Regions from separate parts of the Homo sapiens genome. Here all the other regions are linked to region 3. The links are contacts of gene promoters, found by promoter capture Hi-C in blood cells and fetal thymus (Javierre and others, 2016). All regions are on one chromosome and are shown on one strand. The core of a region is centred on a gene start or on the middle of the fragment in contact, and the rest is flanking DNA. Distances in the headings are between cores, read along the strand shown. Region 1 holds the start of RFTN2 (raftlin family member 2). Region 2 has its middle 31 kb from the start of DNAH7. Region 3 holds the start of PGAP1 (post-GPI attachment to proteins inositol deacylase 1).

Region 1 (3,300 bases), core at 185-2,684, 750 kb before region 3:
ATTCTTGACCTCCGGTAAATGGCAGTTTATAAGACTGAATGGCCCTGGTGCAGTGACTCACACCTGTAATCCCAGTACTTTGGGAAGCCGATCCAGAAGGATCACTTTAGCTGAGGATTTCAAAACCAGCCTGGGTGACATAGTGAGACCCTATCTCCACAAAAAAATACAAAAATGAGCCAGATGTGGTTGCATGTGATTCTGCCACTGCTTCCATTATTTACAAAATAAACCCTTATCACAGTTGAGATTCTAGAGAATACAAGCCTGAAAAATTTTTTCAATCACATTGAAGCCTGTGGTCTCAGCTACTTGGGAAGCTGAGGTGGGAAGATGGCTTGAGCCCGGGAGGTCGAGGCTGAAGTGAACCATGATTTTGCCACTGCACTCTAGCCTAGGTGACAGGCAAGACCACATCTCAAAAAAAAAAAAATTAAATGAATCAAGTTGTCAGTTTTGTTTTATTTTTTAATTAAGGATACTTTGAGACCTATAGAAGTATTAGTTGCTATCATAAGCCTTCTAATAGTAGAGTGTTTTAAACTATTTAAGGATGTTGGGGAAACTAATTACACACATAACTGTCTCTCCTTTGCAATTAAGTAAAGTCTTTTTTATAAAAATATTTTAATATAAATTTTTTATACTTTGCTGTTTTAATTAGCATATGATTTTTTCCAACAGAAAGAAACTTCATATGGAAAGAAATCCTCAAAAGTACTAACTAAAGACTTAAAGGGCTGTTTTTTTAAACTTTACTTTCCTCCTTTTAGACTCCAGAAATAGTTTCCTCATAAAGCTGACTTCCTTTCTGGAAATGATTTTTGTTTCTAAATATGTTGAGAATCCACTCTTTTCATTTTTCTCTTTCTTTCTTTCTCTCTCTCTCTTTCACTCTCTCTCTCTCTTTTTCCCTCTCTCTCTCTGTCTCTCTCTCCACCCCCCTACTGCCTCTCTCTCTCTCTCTCCTTTTTCTTTCTTGGTAGTAGTTGAGAGGAAGGAGGGTAGGCGCAGGACAGAGAGGAGAGGGAAAACAGAAAAAGAATTGTGTGCCACTATGTCTGAATATATCTTCTACTTGTAGATAATTACATCCAAGTTGCCCTTTTGCCTTTTTATTTCCGTTTTTGGACACCTCTTTTTATCATCCAGCCAACTGGAATAGACAAAGCACCGCTGGTGCCCTGAGCGACAGAACTCTGGTAGGGGGCTGGCTGTAAATTGACGTGGCATGGAAATTCTCCGCTAAGTTGTAGCAGCTTGCATGTTTCTCTAAGATCAAGCCCAGCCTCCTGGAGCTGTAGCTTAATCATGGGTTCAATGACTTTACAGAAAAATGGATAGAAAAATTCTTCAACTCCTTTCTTTGGACCCAGATGGTTTTTTTTGGGTTTTTTTTTTTTTTTTGGTTTTTGCTTTTTTTTTTTTTTTTGGTTATCTATAGTTTAGCTGAAAACAAAATCAAAGCAGTTAAGTCTGTAACTTTCTTTTTGCAGCTTAAACAACAGAATTTGCTGCTCTCCCTCCCCTTTCCTGCAATTTAATTCCTTACAGATTTTGCCATGGGGTGCGGACTTAGAAAGCTAGAAGACCCTGATGATAGCAGCCCTGGAAAAATATTTTCTACCCTGAAGAGACCGCAAGTGGAAACAAAGACAGAATTTGCTTACGAATATGTATTGCTGGATTTTACTCTACAAGGTACTTTTTGCTTCTATTTTGTTTGTTAAATGTTTCAGAGATGAGACTACTAGTCATTTTTAAGTGTTGACTTAATAAATTTTTAAACTGTTCTTCATAATGAGATTGTATATTCAAACAATAATGCTTCGCTTCTTAATTATACTTTGTAAGATTTTTGTTTTGTTGATTGCTTCGTATTTTGGTAACATGGCTCATATGTACCTTCTAAAATTAGGGAAATTGCTTGGAAATACTTCTTTCATTTTTAAATCAAATACTTATTTATAGAAGGATTTATGAAAAATGCTTGATTTCCAGGACAAATAGCTATATAGCCTTAGTGACAGTTTGTATTTTGAAAAAGATTTGAAAATCACAATAAGGTATTATGTAGTAAATATTACTTGCATCATATCGTGGAAGAGTGTTTGCTAAGACAATTCTGAGGCTTCCAATTGTGTTAGACTCTGTGATTATGGTAGTCATTTGATATTTTTGACCAAACTAAACTATAAGTTTTGAAAATGTAGTTAAAAAAAAAAAAAAGATAGCCTTCTGTAAGACACTTCCTTTGCTCAGTGCCCTGTCCCTAACAGAGAAACTCTCTGTTCCAGAAAGTTGGAAACACAAATAAACAAGCCCAGATGGCAGCTCTGTGGAAGGAATCGAGGTGGCTCGATTTCACAAATACTTTGCCTCATTTCTTTTGGAAACTTTAGAGTACTGTACAACTGCACAGACAAAGCAGCTTTTTAAAAAAGCTATATCTTTAATTATGAAGTAGTAAAAATGAAATTTAGAGTGCTTTGCTTGCTGTTAAAGTTATCAGATATTAGTAAAATTCTTATTATAGTTATATTTTTAATTCTAATGAGCCACACATTTTATCAATTCACAAAAAGTTTATACTAAATTATCATGTTGAATATTATCTTAATTTTTTTCCAAATTTTTTGTTTACACACATTCTTTTCTTTTTTTTTTTTTTTTTTTTTTTTGCTTTGCTCTAGAAACAGTGCATCTTTGTGCAAGAAGCAAGAGCAGCCCATTTTTCTTTGTCAAAAATTAAGCTGGCCAGCAAACAAACTCCCTTCCAGGGACATACACAAAATCTGTACATAGACTTTTAACATGTTCATATCCTATTTTTGTTTAAAGCTAAGGCTACCAAAAGAAAAAAATTAATATTCTTAATTTCTTAATTTTCTTTTAAATTATGAATGTTAAAAATGGATTAAGATAATAGCAATTATCAGAGAAGTAACCAAACAACCGTTTGAATTTTTTCTATACTTTTTCAAAAACCTTCATTTGAGAAAATATTTGTAATGTGGTGCTATGTTCACACCATTGATTTTCCTCATCAATTTTTTTTTAGGACTCGTTTCTGTACATCCATAGGAGACAGACACATACTCTCCTTAACCTTGAAACACTGTGTATTCATGAATTTAGGTCAGAACCATTTTGATCTGTACTTTAGGATTCTCTGCACAACCCATTGTAGGATCATAGGGTTTAAAGTAACTTGAAAAGTTTTTCTGATTCATTTCCTTCCAACAATGTTAACATCTCAAACAAATTTGTATAAATGCAGTCATCCTTGAATCAGAAAGA
Region 2 (3,457 bases), core at 179-2,678, 830 kb after region 3:
AGTATTATTGGAAATGGTGTTTGACTCCCTTCTTATTGGTGCAACTCAAAAGGGCAATGTAGTAAACAGTTCCAGACAAATTTGAAGACAAGATGTTTTTCATAAGGAAGGAAAAAATTCTCACAACAAGCCAAATGTGCATCTTTTCAGATAGGAGCCCTTCATATTCACTGGAATTTCTTAAAAAGTAACTTTCCACATATTTCCCCCAAAATAACCTATTTCACTAAGAGTAAAGCACGTGGCACCTAATTTATCTTCCCTGAACAGAGTAGAGCTGAGTCACTGACACAGAACTGAAACCTTCGCACCCAAGCAGGCTCAAGGGACTGAGCCAGAACTGATTCTCAGATAGCTCAACCCTCCCTCCCTCTCCCACAATAAAGGTTCATATCAAAATCACACTCTGAACATCTGACTCATATCTTGTGATTATTGAACATACTCCTCCTGTACCAATGTTCCTGTGGACATTTGACCATTTCCATGTTCATTTCTTAGGGAAAACAGGATTGTTTAGCTGGAGGTTGAATCAAATAGATATACATATTGAAACCAAGTGTCCTCTCTTGCTGTCTGAACATCCAAACAAAGCTAGGAGCAGCCCCCTTACCATTAATCAAGGACCAGATAAACAGCTATCTGCTGAAGAGGACTTCTGCAGCAATGGCTTAGCCCTCACCTCTGGCACAAGGAAGGATGGATGGGTGGGCTGCAATTAGTTGGCATGTTCAAAATAAGAGACAAGTGGCAGGGAACACCTCTTGGTTTGACTTCAGCTTGCATCACTGTGGCTCTTGACTGCCATTTCTACTTTTCCTGTGTAGATCGAAAGCTCTAATCCTTACCCCTAGTAAGTGCAATAGTGCCCTTTGTACAGTTGGAGACCTCCACCTCCTAGTTTGAGCCAGAATGTGTTCTGTGCGTAAATACATTACATGGAGTCCAAGAGATTTCTTTCTTTCTTAATTTACACATAATAATTGTACATATTCATGGGGTATGTAAGGATGTTTTGATACATATAATGTATGATGATTAGATCAGGGTAATTAGCATATCCATTATCTCAAACATTTATCATTTCTTTGTGTTGGGAACATTCAATATCCTTCCTTCTAGCTATTTGAAACTACATATTGTTAACTGTAGTAGTCCTACAGTGGTATAGAACACTAGAAACGTATTCCTCCTCCCTTGCTCTGATTCTGTAACCCTTAACAAATCTCTCCCTAAAGGTTTCTGTTAACTCCTAATAAATGATCGCGTGGGTTGGCAGAGTCAAGAATGAGGTTAAATGGAGAATTCTTGGCCTGAGGACTATGAATTCCTTTTTTTTTTTTTTTTTTTTTTTTGGCCCATTTGGTTCCACGTGTGCCTCCAGATCTCTGGTGCTGTGGAGCAGTGACTGTGCTGTGTGCTGCACACCTCACTCTCTTGCCGCTTTCCCTGGTCTCCATCAGGACTTTACCAAAACACTCAAGTGCTGTGGCATCTGAGAATGTCCCTCTATGCACTGTCTGTCCATATAGTGAGATAAGGGAGGTGCTGGAAACAATTGTTCTCTTCCTCTATGATTCCTGCAAGTATTGTTTTGCAATTGTGCTGCCCGCCTTGAAAATCACATGGTGCCCCACTGGCAGCTTTATGATCATTTCTCTAAATGAAAGTGAGAGGTTATCGAATTTGTCTAGTTTAGTGTGAGTCACTTATATGCCTGGGAAATGAAGTCCTATCCTGTGTTATTGATACTGGAAGCTGCACAAAAGGAATGAGTCTCTGGAGTTTGGAACTCACCTCATGAATCTCACACCAACCAGTGCTGTCCTGGCTTTTCATTGGGATGGAATGAGAATCAAGTCCCCATGGTGGAGGTTATCGTGAAAACCCCAGATTTTAATAGAGAGGTAATTTGAGTACATAACATATTGAACTTGAATATTATGCACTTGAAGGAAAAATATTTCCTTTGTAGTGGGCAGCCTCTATTATGTTTTGGAGGAATTTTCCAGTAAATCATCTAACAGCTGCTTTACTGTATAGGCCTTGAAATTTTATCTGTTCATTGGTTACAGACACTTTTGCTTTTGGAAACTTCACATGCTTCTCTTTACCAGTAATATTTTGTTCCCAAAATATCGGCTCCTGGGGAGGATTTAATAAAGGCTGACCCAACAAGACATGTTTTTGAGCAAACCTTTTGGATGTCTTTGGCTAGGAACCATGTCCTATGTAAGTGTATTCTATGTAAGATTATTACTAAAAATCCAAAAAGCAACCTACAGATTTTGTGACAAAAAGAAAATGTTAACCATCTCTGAACATAAAGGCATTTTGCATCTGTGAATGTAGAAACAGTGATTATAGTGGGTGCTAGTAGAGGTATAGAATGTATGTGTGTGTTTTGGAGGAGTGGCAAGGAAGAAACAATGGGACAAGCATTGGCAAAAATATGGCTGGTGGAGATTCTTTCCTTCAGACTGCAGATTGAAGACACCCTTCACAGACAGGAGCCACTGAATAAACACCTCTGAAGAAGATAGAAAGAGAATAGCTTGCTAATGCCGTGCTAACTGAAGTGAGCCTGCAATTCTCAAAATATGATCCATTTGAGGGTTACCTGGAAGATGCTTATTCCAGAATAGAGGCATGATGTGTTGATTTTTGGAAGGGGCTCCTGGCCAACAGCAATTGAAAAACTGAAAAAAATGGAGGCTGAAAACTCACCAACCATGACTTCAGTTCATGGGGCACAGTCATTATCTATGCCCTTTAAGAAAGAAAGATTCCACATGGACAGTGTGTGAAGACAGTGGAGAGGGTGAAGGAAGAGCAGAAAGGTTTGCTCTAAGAGGCCCATCTGACACTGGTCACAGGTCAGTATAAGGCAGAAGAGAGGAGGGCAGGAGGCTTAGCTTGGAGTTGGTAAATGAAAGAGTTTTCAAGGAGATTTTCCAGTCATAAATTAGAGAGAACAAGAGCAGAAGAGGGGGCTATTTATGGAAATATTTGCAATAGGTGAATAGTTTGCAAATTATTGGGGAACCTGCATTTCTTTTTGTCTCATCTATTTATTTTAAGTCAGAATAATCCCTTATTTTAAAAATTATATGTATTGGCATATTAAAAGATTAATAAGTAAAATAGTTCTTTCCCTCTTAGGTTCTGTAGCACTCAAACCAATGGAGACAAAAATATCAGTTTGATTACTGAGAACAATTATATTGCAGGGTATGACTATGTAAGTGGTCAAATAGACATGCTAATACTCCACTTCCTCAATCTTTGCCTTGATTCAGCCCAATCAAGGTAAGTTTGGGGTACTTTTACCCATGATTCTTGTGTCACATTAATTTGGGACATGGAGAGAAGAAAAGAGAAATTCCTAGTAATTACAGGTTTAAAAAGTTTTAAATAGATAAGCTCTAGTCAAATGAAACCAATAGATCTTACATAG
Region 3 (3,082 bases), core at 81-2,580:
TTCGTAATCTGAACATCAGGGTGTTGTACAAGATAAACTATAAGCTTCCTTTTGGTTTTAAAATTCTTTGATTTTATGTATTGTAGCCAAACTTCCTCTGCACAGAAAATATACCAGAAAATCAGCCCAAGTTCAATGAAATTCATTTAGTGCCAAAGACCATTCTAAGAATCCTGTGGTTACTACACACACACGCACACACACACCGTCTACTGTTGAGTCAGCTTTAAAGAGTGATGTCTTTTTCCTAACATTCTAGTGTTTTGAAGCTGCTACAAGTGATTGATTTCGAGCTTTTTTTAAAAACTCCTCCTTTGTACAAAACAGAACCGAAATTCTTCAAAACGAATTAAGTCATTTGCGAGTTTGAATGGAAGCTGGACGAAATTGCCTCCTCCAGTTAACGTGGAACCCATTCCCCAAGAGATGGAGGTTCTGGAGAGCAAGGCGAGTCAGCGTCAAACTGATTACGCAGATACCTGTTGGGGACGTCAGTGCTAATAGATATTTTGGTAACATATTTTAAGGACTAACGATGCTTTTTGTGATTCAGGCTTTCATCTGATACCAAGAGCAGAATCTCGTCGGCTTGCGGGTGTTTTTTTTTTTTTTTTTTTTTTTTTTTTTAATGAGCCGGTGCTTTTAAGCGCTGTTACCTACTGGGCCCAAGTAGGCGGTAGAAGAGGGAAAATAAAGCCATTTGTTCCCTCTTCAAGCTAACTGCTCCAGAGAGCTGTGAGTGTGCTCTACTACCGTTGGGAAAACCGAAATTGCGGAGGCCTGAGTCTTTTCAAAATTGAACGGGAAGCGTTTTTAAACTGCCGCAGGGAGAGGCGTTTGCGAGGTGACAGCTGATGACCCCTGGGCTTTTAAGTCCTCCTCCCCTCTCTCGGTCCGCTCTCGGTCCTTAATCGCCTCTGGACTCTGGGCTCTAGTCCCCTCCCCAGATTCACCCATCTGACACCCGCCTCCTGCCCAATCCCCCGGCTCGTCTCCAGGGCTCCCGCGCTCCGCCCATCCCCCTCTGGATGCTTCCTCTCTCTCTCTTCTTTCCCTCCCGCCAGCCACTCCTCGCGTCTTTCTCTCCCCACTTCCCTTCTTTCCCCTCACCCTCCAGCCCAGCCCACCCTGCTTTCTCCCTCTTTCTCTTTCCCGTAGATCCGCGCTCGCGCTGCAACACCTACTCCTCCCTCGGCTCTGGGAGTCGCCAGGCCAGAGGCGCCGCGGACCTGGTGCGCGCAGGCGCACTGCGCGGCTGGCGAACGGGCAGGCCGGGCATCAGCGCAGGCGCGCGCGGCTGGGGCTCGGCTCCGGGGGTGGCGGTCGGACAGTGTCTAGCACGCTCAGTCCGGGCTTGGGGCCCCGCGGCGGAGAAGGAGGTAGAGGGGGCGGCGGCGGCGGCGGCGGTGGTGGCGGCACCATGTTTCTTCACTCAGTTAATCTCTGGAACCTGGCGTTTTATGTCTTCATGGTCTTTCTGGCAACCCTGGGGCTGTGGGATGTCTTCTTCGGCTTCGAGGAGAATAAGTGCAGTATGAGCTACATGTTTGAGTACCCGGAGTATCAGGTAAGGTTCTGCCCTCTCCTCAGCCGGGCGCTCCAAGACTCTGGCCCCTGGTGCCTTTTTCCTTCTGTGGGTTCGTCCTGCCTTGGCTCTCTGCGCCTCTCGGGCCCCCTGTCCCGTCCTCGCCTCTGTTTTCTCCGCCCGGGGAGACTCTGCATCCCCCTTCTGCCCCCCTCACCTCCCCTTTGTGTCCCTTCTTCACGGTGGGGTGTTTGTTAGACGATTTCCCGAGAGCATCCTCGTGGTCGTCCTCGTAGTTACTCCGCTGTCCCTCCGCCTCCTCCCCAGCCCCAAATCCTGGGCACAAGCTCTTCTGACTGGCCGGGCCCAGCCCCCCTCATGCCCAGAGAGGCAGCCTCAACCCTTCTCCCTAAACCGAAGCTCCATCCCTCTCGCGTTCTTGCCTTAACCCGTGCCCCAGGACCTTCCTTTGCTTCCCACGCGCCTAAATTCCCCTCGCGCCCGGTGATCTGCTCGTCAGATTTCGCATTTCTAGAAAGGGACCGAGCGTCTGCAGAGTGTATATTGGCTAGATAGTTCCCAAGGCTGTTTTTAGAGACTCCAGGGTTTTGCCTATGGGTAAACTGGCGAGTCATTGAATTGGAAACTAGATCCCCTCTTGGAAAGATGTTGCAGATCCTCTTATTTTGCAGGTTAAGGGGCCGTGCGTGTGTGGGCTTGCCTGTGTGTGTGCATACCTGTGTTTATGCATGTCTCTCAGCAGCCGAGCCTCTTAATAGTTGCATACAAAATCTATTTCATGGTGCTATTTTTGTTTTCTCGCTGGGTTCGGAGTTTAAGAGAGAGCCAACCCTTCTCTCTCCACCCCTACCGCTTCCATGCCATTTTGAATGTTTTCAATCAATGGCTTCGTTAGTTCGGCATAGTAGGATCTAGAATTTCATTCATGACTAGCTGTAAAAAGAGGCGCAGACAAATTACACAACTGTCCTAAGAGAATTTTTCCGAATGATTCTTTTATTTCTAAGTGCATCTCTTAATTATGGACTACCTATTGTAATAATTCCCTACCATAAAATGTATATGCACTATAACATATATTGATAAAATACATTTTTAGTATACTCTTAAAATCACAGCAGTTTTTTTTTTAGGGTGAAGGATGCAAGTCCTGATTGCTTCTTTGTACAAGTCATTATGGAGGAAGCCTGTTACTTGATTACGCTGCTATTATTTTGATCTTAAGACTACTTAAGGTTTAAATTGCTGAAGAGCATTCTTTCCCATGGGAAAAATTCTAGTAAATTTAGATTTCATTTGTGTTTAGATCCTTACCTTGGTTTTGCATTTATGATGATAAGAGAGTGGAAACATTTGGTAGGGATGCTATCGAAGGAGAAGATTTTGACATGTTACTGTCGTCTCTGTTCATTTCTAAGCAAACCTTTTTAGTTTAGTATTTTAAAAAACTGAAAATAGAGCTATTATAATTCCCTCCTTATTTTTGGTTTAATAATTAGGAAACTCCCAATAGATTGAAGTAGGTCACTTTAGTTT

Evidence for each region. The method cuts DNA at HindIII sites, captures the fragments that hold promoters and counts their contacts. A CHiCAGO score of 5 or more calls a contact.
Region 1: the fragment with the promoter of RFTN2 here is called in contact with the fragment with the promoter of PGAP1 in region 3 in 3 of 17 cell types (neutrophils, fetal thymus and M0 macrophages); the score reaches 7.9 in neutrophils.
Region 2: a contact is called between a fragment that was not itself captured here and the fragment with the promoter of PGAP1 in region 3, in 1 of 17 cell types (neutrophils). The highest score is 6.2, in neutrophils.

Annotation. Positions count from the first base shown.
Region 1 is chr2:197,673,721-197,677,020 of GRCh38, reverse strand. It overlaps RFTN2 (raftlin family member 2), which reads left to right and starts at 1,434. Exons shown (of 9, transcript NM_144629.3): 1 at 1,434-1,701. The coding sequence starts at 1,563. The HindIII fragment of the contact is 18,558 bases long and covers 1-3,300 here.
Region 2 is chr2:196,098,290-196,101,746 of GRCh38, reverse strand. No RefSeq gene overlaps it. Among named protein-coding and RNA genes, the nearest start is that of DNAH7, 31 kb to the right of the region's middle. RefSeq lists enhancers at 155-254, 525-674, 695-784. The HindIII fragment of the contact is 5,493 bases long and covers 1-3,457 here.
Region 3 is chr2:196,924,955-196,928,036 of GRCh38, reverse strand. It overlaps PGAP1 (post-GPI attachment to proteins inositol deacylase 1), which reads left to right and starts at 1,330. Exons shown (of 27, transcript NM_024989.4): 1 at 1,330-1,567. The coding sequence starts at 1,421. RefSeq lists a silencer at 1,132-1,381. The HindIII fragment of the contact is 4,012 bases long and covers 47-3,082 here.